Linked DNA regions of Homo sapiens: region 1 is linked to region 2. The links are contacts of gene promoters, found by promoter capture Hi-C in human tissues and cell types (Jung and others, 2019). All regions are on one chromosome and are shown on one strand. Each heading gives the region's core, a stretch centred on a gene start or on the middle of the fragment in contact. The rest is flanking DNA. Distances are from core to core; before and after follow the strand shown. Region 1 has its middle 7.6 kb from the start of PPP1CC. Region 2 holds the start of CCDC63 (coiled-coil domain containing 63).

Region 1 (4,223 bases), core at 541-3,040, 96 kb after region 2:
AAGGGGAAGCGAATAGGATGGAGATGGGATTCAAAGAGAGTAGACTGGGCATGGTGGCTCACGCCTGTAATCCCAGCACTTTGGGAGGCCAAGGTGGGTGGATTACTTGAGGTCAGGAGTTTAAGACCAGCCTGACCAACATGGCGAAACCCAGTCTCTACTAAAAATACAAAAATTAGCCAGGTGTGGTGGGCACCTGTAATCCCAACTACTTGGGCGGCTGAGGCAGGAGAATCGCTTGAACCTGGGAGGTGGAGGTTACAGTGAGCCAAGATCGCACCATTGCACTACAGCCTGGGCGACAGAGCAAGACTCCGTCTCAAAAAAAAAAAAAAAAAAAAAAGTGTCAACCATAATACTTCATTTCCTTTCTTACCTAAAAAAAAAATAAAGAAAAAAAACTAAGTCAAATATGGCCAAATGTTAACATTTGGAATCTCTGGAGTGTGAAGAGGGGTATCTATATGCAAGTACTTTAAGCTTTAAATAGTTCATTGCATTTTTTTCATTACCAATCTATACTTCGCTCCAAGTTCTAAATAGTTCATTACAATGTTTTTTTCTTTTTCTTTTTTTTTTTTTTTTGAGATGGAGTCTCACTCTGTCACCCAGGCTGGAGTGCAGTGGTGCTGTCTCAGCTCACTGCAGCCTCCACCTCTCAGGTTCAAGTGATTCTCCTGCCTCAGCCTTCTGAGTAGCTGGGACTACAGGCGTCCACCACCACACCCAGCTAATTTTTGTATTTCTAGTAGAGATGGGGTTTCACCATGTTGGCCAGGCTGGTTTCGAACTCCTGACCTCAGGGATCCACCTGCCTTGGACTCCCAAAGCGCTGCGATTACAGGCGTGAGCCACCGTGCCCAGCCAAAACATGTTTTTTAAGGAATGGGGTCTCACTACATTGTTCAGGCTAGTCTCAAACTCCTGGGCTTGAAGCAATCCTCTCACCTTGGCCTCCCAAAATGCTGGAATTACAGGTGTGAGCCACCACACTGGCCAGAAGACATCTTTTATTGTCATGATTGGAGAAGAGGGGCATGCTACTTGTATCTGGTGGGTAGAAATCAGGGATGCCGCTAAACACCATGTAGTACACAGGACAGAACCCGCTCGACAGAGAACGATCTAGCCCAAAACGTCAATAGCGCCCAGGTCAACAATCCCTGCTCTAAAGTGAGCCTCCCTTTGCCAGACTTTGTTCCAAATGGCAGTGCGATCCACCCTCCAGATGCTGGGATAGCTTGTTTCTTTCCCGACCACAGAGTGAGTCATTTTGTGATGCTAAGGAACATTTAGCAAGGCGATAATCATCCTAGTTTCACTGTTGGATAATTCCAGATGAAAGTGTATTTGGGGCCTTCTCAAAGAAAGACACACCCAACGACAATGAAGGCTCTGTGAAGGCCAAGGCTGGTGCAAGAGGTTTTGAACAGCCCATCTAAATCCCCCTGCTCCAAGAAGGCTCCTGGGAACATCCCAAAGAATCTGCTCTCCCTGATCCCTAAGAACATAACTTCTGTGTTTGGAGGAAGAAGTGTGACATCAGATTCCCTGGGTTTAAATCCTGGCTCTGGCCCTCCCCAGCTGGGTTATAAATTATTTCCCTTGGCGAAACCTAACTCCTAAAATAGTGTGAAGATTAAAATGAGCATGCATGCAGGGCGCAATGGCTCAAGCCTGTAATCCCAGCACTTTGGGAGGCTGAGACAGGAGGATCGCTTGAGCCCAGGAGTTCAACATCAGCCTGGGCAACATAGCGAGACCCTATCTCTACAAAAAAAAAAAAAAATCAGAAAAATTAGGGCAGGCATGGTGGCTCATGCCTGTAATCCCAGAATTTTGGGAGGCCGAGGCAGGTGGATCACCTGAGGTCAGGAGTTCAAGACCAGCCTACAAAAATATTAGCCAGGTGTGGTGGTGCATGCTTGTCCTCCCAGCTACTCTATACTCTGGAGGGTGAGGCAGGAGAATCGCTTGAACCCAGGAGGCAGAGGTTGCAGTGAACGGAGATCATGCCACTGCATTCTACCCTGGGTGACAGAGTAAGACTTCGTTTCAAAAATAAAATAAAATGAGCATGCATGAAAGGCCATGAGCATAGAGATTGGCACACAGAAAACACTCAATAAATGCCAGCTATTATCACTGTTATTGTCATCATTATTCCTGTTAGCACCCTAAGTACATTGGAAGATACATTCTCACGATCACATTCTGAGATGGGTAATAATGTCCCCATTTTGCAGATTAGAAAACTAAGACTAATCAGTAAAGCCACCATATATATATAATATATGTATACACACACACACACACGCACACACATATATACATTTACAAGTATAAATATATATACATTTACAAGTATAAATATATACATTTACAAGTATAAATATATATACATTTACAAGTATAAATATATATACATTTATAAGTATAAATATATATACATTTATAAGTATATATACGTTTATAAATATAAATATATATACATTTATAAACATAAATACATATATTTATATATATAAATATATAAAATGGACATTTACTTTATACATGTGTATACTTTATATTTTATACATATATACATATATGTATATATGTGTATACATACATACAGATGTGTGTGTATGTGTATACATACAGATGTGTGTATATGTGTATATATGTACATATATATGTATGTATGTGTATATATACACATATATACACATACATATATACATGTGTGTATATATATATATACACACACACACATATATATATTACACAATTTCACTCTGTCACCCAGGCTGGAGTGCAGTGCTGAAATCTTGGCTCACTGCAACCTCCGTCTCCTGAGTTCAAGAGATTCTCCTGCCTCAGCCTCTGGAGTAGCTGGGATTACAGGCACCCACCACCATGCCCGCCTAATTTTTGTATTAGATGTAGAGATGAGTTTCGCCATGTTGGCCAGGCTGGCCTCGAACTCCTGACCTCAAGTGATCCGCCTGCATCAGCCTCCCAAAGTGCTGGGATTACAGGCATGAGCCACCGCTCCCGGCTAAAGCCACATTTTTCAACAGCCTGCTCTCTAGTCTCATAGCTTCCTCTCCTTCTCACCTACAGTCCATTCTCCTCACGGAAACCAAAGAAATCTTTTAAAAATGTAGGCTGTGCGCGGTGGTTCACGCCTGTAATCCCAGCACTTTGGGAGGCCGAGGTGGGAGGATCACCTGAGGTCAGGAGTTCGAGACCAGCCAGGCCAACATTAGCCAGGCATGATGGCAGGTGCCTGTAATCCCAGCTGCTCGGGAGGCTGAGGTGGGAGAATCGCTTGAACCCGGGAGGTGGAGGTTGCAGTGAGCCGAGATCATGCCATTGCACTTCAGCCTGGGTGACAGAGTAAGACTCTGTCTCAAAAAAAAAAAAAATGCAATCAGAGCTAAGCATGGAGGTGTGCACCTATAGTCCCAGTTACTTGGGTAGGAAGTAACTGTCCAGGAGTTCGTGTCCAGCCTGGGCACCATAGTAAAACCTGATCTTGGCCAGGCTCGGTGGTTCACACCTATAATCCTAGCACTTTGGGAGGCCAAGGTGGGTGGATCACTTGAGGTCAGGAGTTCGAGACCAGCCTGATCAACATGTAGAAGCCCCGTCTCTACTAAAAATACAAAATTTGCTGTGCGTGGTGGCACATGCCTGTAATCCCAGCTACTTGGGAGGCTGAGGCAGGAGAATCGCTTGAACCTGGGAGGCGGAGGTTGCAGTGAGATGAGATCGCGCCATTGCACTCCAGCCTGGACGACAAGAGCGAAACTCCATCTCAGAAACAAAACAAAACAAAACCCGATCTTTCAAAACACATACACACAATCAGACCTTATTTTGAAGAAGATGCTCTCTGGGTTATATGTGATGTGATATTTTATGATCCATCATTTTTTTGTGGGGGAGACAGGGTCTCACTCTGTCGCCCCAGCTGGAATGCAATGGCACAGTCACAGCTCACTGCAGCCTCAACCTCCGGGGCTCAAGCAATTCTTCTGCCTCAGCCTCCTGAGTAGCTGGGAGTTATAGGTGCACACCACCAAGCCCGGCTAATTTTTTGTATTTTTTGTAGAGACAGGGTATTGCCATGTTGCCCAGGCTGTTCTCAAACTCCTGAGTTCAAGCGATCCGCCCATCTCAGCTTCCCAAAGTGCTGGGATTACAGGCATGAGCCACCACGCCCAGCCTGATCC
Region 2 (4,127 bases), core at 476-2,975:
TCTCAGCGCAAAATAATGTCTGTAAAGTGGTTAGCATAGTGCCTAGCTCATGACAGACGCTGGGCGAACGTAGCCTGTTTGTGAAGTGGGATTTTCAAGTACCAGTCTGTCTGGCCCATGAGATCATTGGCTGGGTTATGCACCATTCTCCAGGAACCAAAAGCTCCATCACCTCCTGCCTTTTTGCTGATCCATATGCGCATACATAGTCACTCTCCCCTAGGGTGCTGGCTTCTCTTCAGGTTCCAGATGTTAACCCAGGCCTTTCCCTTTCGATCAGTGCCCTCTGGGATGGGCTCCTACATTCCCTGGGGAACAGATCCACCCCCTCACCCCCATCCTCATAGCTTGGCCTGCAGAGCATCTCCTGGATGTCCTGACCCCTGGCTTACCACCCTCTCATTCAAGGGTCTGAAACTCATAGTCCATGGGGCCAATTCAACCTACCTCCAGTTCTGTTCCACAGTGTTTCAAAACATAAATGTGGGTCATGCACTCACTCTCCTGGCCACAGGCCCCACTCCTCCCTATTGGCTAAGCTCCCCTCCCCACAATTCTCACATTTTCTGTAACTGCCTAGAGCCAGTAGGAATTTGAATTTGCAGTTCCTGTTAGGAATCTAAAAGCTGCCCACTTCTGGGGAACAGCGTGTGCGAGGAAAAGTGCAGAGAAGCCCAGCAGCCCAGGTCAGGGGACGTCAGGCAAGGGCCTCCTGCCCCTTGGGCCTCAGTCTATTCACCACAGCATCCATAGTCCTGGGCGCATGGGCAGCTCTTGGCAAATACAGTTTGAATGAATGAAGTTTCCTCCAGGCAGAGATCATCTTCATTTATCTAATATCTAATTAGGCCTGCACCTCATCTGCTTCTGAATTTTAACAACCTGCCTTTAAAAGACAAGCCTGCCCCCGAAGGATTCCCTAGGGACCTTGGGACAGGCAGCTATGTGGATCATATTGAGCCAGGGCTGCACAACCTGGAATTAAACATGTGCTTAGGGCACTAGCCAAACAGGAGCACAGAAACACATACACAGTTTTTTGTTGTTGTTGTTGTTTTTCTTGTTTTTTGTTTGTTTGTTTTGTTTTTTGTTTTTTAAGGATTATTATGGGAGGAAAATAAAAATTTGTTGAACTTTTTTTTTTTCCTTTTTTGAGAGCGTCTCTCTCTCTCTCTGTCACCCAGGCTAGCGTGCAGTGGTTCAATCTCGGCTCACTGCAGCCTCAACCTTCCCGGGCTTAAGCGATCCTCCCCCTTCAGCCTCCCAAGAAGCTGGGACTACAGGTGGCACCACCACGCCCGGCTAAGTTTTTAAATATTTTGTAAAGACGAATTTGCCCGAGCTGGTCTCGAACCCCTGGGCTCAAGCGATCCTCTTGCCTCAGCCTCCCAAAGTGCTAGAATTACAGGCATGAGCCACCTCGCGCGGCTCTGGAGTTATTTTACACACTACAATTTATTTATGCATGATTGCGGGAGACCCTGATACTTTCAACGCTTAGGGCAGCGAGATATGAATGGACTGGGGACCGCGACCGCTCTTTCCTTTTCCCTGGCAGGGGGAGCTGTGGCGCAGCAGGCGCGGCCGGGCGGGCGGCGAAACTTACCAGTGGCGGGGCCCGGACTGCTTGTCCGTGGCTGCTCCGGCCGCTTGTCCGACGGCTGCTGCAACTGCGCTTCCGACGGTGCCGGGAGGACTGCTTGCTGCGCGGCCTCGCTGCGCCACACCCCCAGCCCCACGCCCGGGCGTTCTGGGACCCCTGGAACGGGCGCCTTTGTGACTCGCACAAACATGGACGTTCTCCCCTGCAAGTCCGCTGGGAGGGCACAGGGCCCTCGGGAGGAGAGGACAAGAGCAGCTGGTTGGAGGGAAGCTTTTGGTTGGGGGAGAGGGGCGACACACTCTCCAGCGACCCCTTACCAGACTACCCGGACCCTCATGACGCTAAGTGACTTCTTGAGTCAATCAACAGTCTTAGCCCCTCCCTCGGCCAACGCCATGCAATCGCTGGTCCACCTCGCCCCACTCACACCCCATTCACCGTCTTCTTAGCCTACACCTACACTCATGCTCACAGCAGCCCTGCTAGGTACAGACTTCACACGCAGCTAACTCAAAGGAGCCCAGTTTTTTCTACTCTGAAAAATAAAATAAAGTAAAAATAAATTAAAAAAAAATGTTGGGGCGGGGGGGGAAAGAGATATTTCATGAGAAAAATAACTTCATCAGTGCAGGAGAATTTTCTTCAGAACATCCACCTGACCCCCACCCACTGTGAGCATAACACGGGAACCCAAGTGTGATCCAGGCAAGTGAGCTTTTCACTGCCCTAACGGAGTTTAGTGGTTTAAAGATACACATTTTTCATACAATCGGCCCTGAAACACAAGTCAACTACTTTCTCTGGGGCTAAGCTCTAGAAACAATCACAGAATTAATGGAAAATTATTGGGGGTACCTGTTTTCTACAGTAATTTTGATTCCATGTGATTTCCACTTTAACTCCTAGCCCCCTGAGTGGATTGTAGTAGCTCAGCCCTGCTAAGGTCTCCACTTCATCCGTAAATTCTTGGGACAGGATGTGTGTTTTAGAACTTACCATATTTTGGAGGCCAGGTGCGCTGGCTCATGCCTATAATCCTAGCACTTTGGGAGGCTGAGGCAGGTAGATCATTTAAGGTCAGGAGCTCAAGACCAGCCTGGCCAACATGGTGAAACCCTGTGTATTTCTTTTTTTTTTTTTTTTTTTTTTGTATTTCTACTAAAAATATAACAAATTTAGCCCGGCATGGTGGCACACACCCGGTGGGTGCCTGTAGTCTCTGCTACTCGGGAGGCTAGGGCAGGAGAATTGCTTGAACCCAGGAGGCAAAGGTTGCCGTGAGCCAAGATCACACTCACTCCAGCCTGGGTGACAGAGTGAGACTCCGTTTCAAAAAAAAAAAAAAGAACTTACCATGTTTTTGGTTTCAGAAAGATAATATGGTACGCAAGGGAGTATGTTGCCCCTAATGTTGCTGGCAGCCACGTTGTAACCATGAGGGAAGTCAGTGGGACAGTATATTACATACAGGGTTCGGGCCACACAGTCCAGATCAAACGAATTACTGTTTCTGCAAGGAAACATCAATATTCATGTCAAGTAAGATAAGGATAGATTATGAACAGCTACATGTCAGGCCTTGCCTCCAAATGATTCATATGAAGTGTTTTGGATACACTTGACCATCCTCATTTTACAGATGGGGAAACAGACTTAGAGAAACCGAGTTTTGCAGTCAGTGGAGCAGCCAGGATTTGAACCCAAGGCTCCCTGTCTCTGGAGCCCCACGCTTTTCCACACCCTGACTGAAACCACAGCCCCAAATCTGAGCAGCCCTGCAAGCTGATATCTCCCATCTCTGATATTTAAAGGGCTGCTCCAGCACTCAGCTCCATGCAGAGCCCAATGACTCACACATTTCAAGTGTCAACGACTGAAAAATGATTAAGTTCAATTAGGTTCAGGACTTGTTAAAAATAGACCTTCCTCCGACGAATTTACTCTCTTTGTCTTTATGGGCGCAGCTCTCAGCAGCCGCCATGCAGAGACGTATCAGGCTTTTTTAATTAGAACATGTCAGAATCGATTCTGCTAAAGGGACCTTCTGCTTTATCAGCGGGACTTGGAGCAGGGTGAGATGCCAGCTTGCCAAAGCGATGAGCCAGCGGTGGGAAATGTTGGCGACAGCAGAGCCTCCAGAACACAGGAGGAAATTAGAGCCAAGCCGCAGAGGGACCAGGCAGAGGCATTTGGACGCAGACCAGAAAACTGACAGTCCAAGTGACTCTTTGGTTACAAAAATCAGAAACCCACTCGAACTATCTCAAAATGAATTTTTTTCTTTGGCCTCCTCATCTGTTTCCCTTTCCTTCTTCCCAGCCAATCCCAATTTGTTCAGGTAACAGTCCTTCCCCATTGAGCCTATGTAACCAGGAGCAGTTGAGTTTTACACACACCTCCAAGGTAGATCTCCATTAGTGTTAGCAAATCACAGCCATCCCATCACCTCCTTGCCAATGACTGGGAATCTAAGTTTAAGCCAATTAGTGCATAGCATTCTCCCAGAAACTTCTACTGGTCCAGG

Evidence for each region. The method cuts DNA at HindIII sites, captures the fragments that hold promoters and counts their contacts. A contact is called where the count stands out against the background at its distance.
Region 1: a fragment that was not itself captured here is called in contact with the fragment with the promoter of CCDC63 in region 2 in 5 of the 25 tissues and cell types used here (dorsolateral prefrontal cortex, hippocampus, lymphoblastoid cells and 2 more).

What each region holds. Positions count from the first base shown.
Region 1 is chr12:110,748,336-110,752,558 of GRCh38, reverse strand. No RefSeq gene overlaps it. Among named protein-coding and RNA genes, the nearest start is that of PPP1CC, 7.6 kb to the right of the region's middle. The HindIII fragment of the contact is 5,871 bases long and covers 1-4,223 here.
Region 2 is chr12:110,844,585-110,848,711 of GRCh38, reverse strand. CCDC63 (coiled-coil domain containing 63) reads right to left here and starts at 1,725. Exons shown (of 12, transcript NM_152591.3): 1 at 1,607-1,725. The HindIII fragment of the contact is 19,678 bases long and covers 1-4,127 here.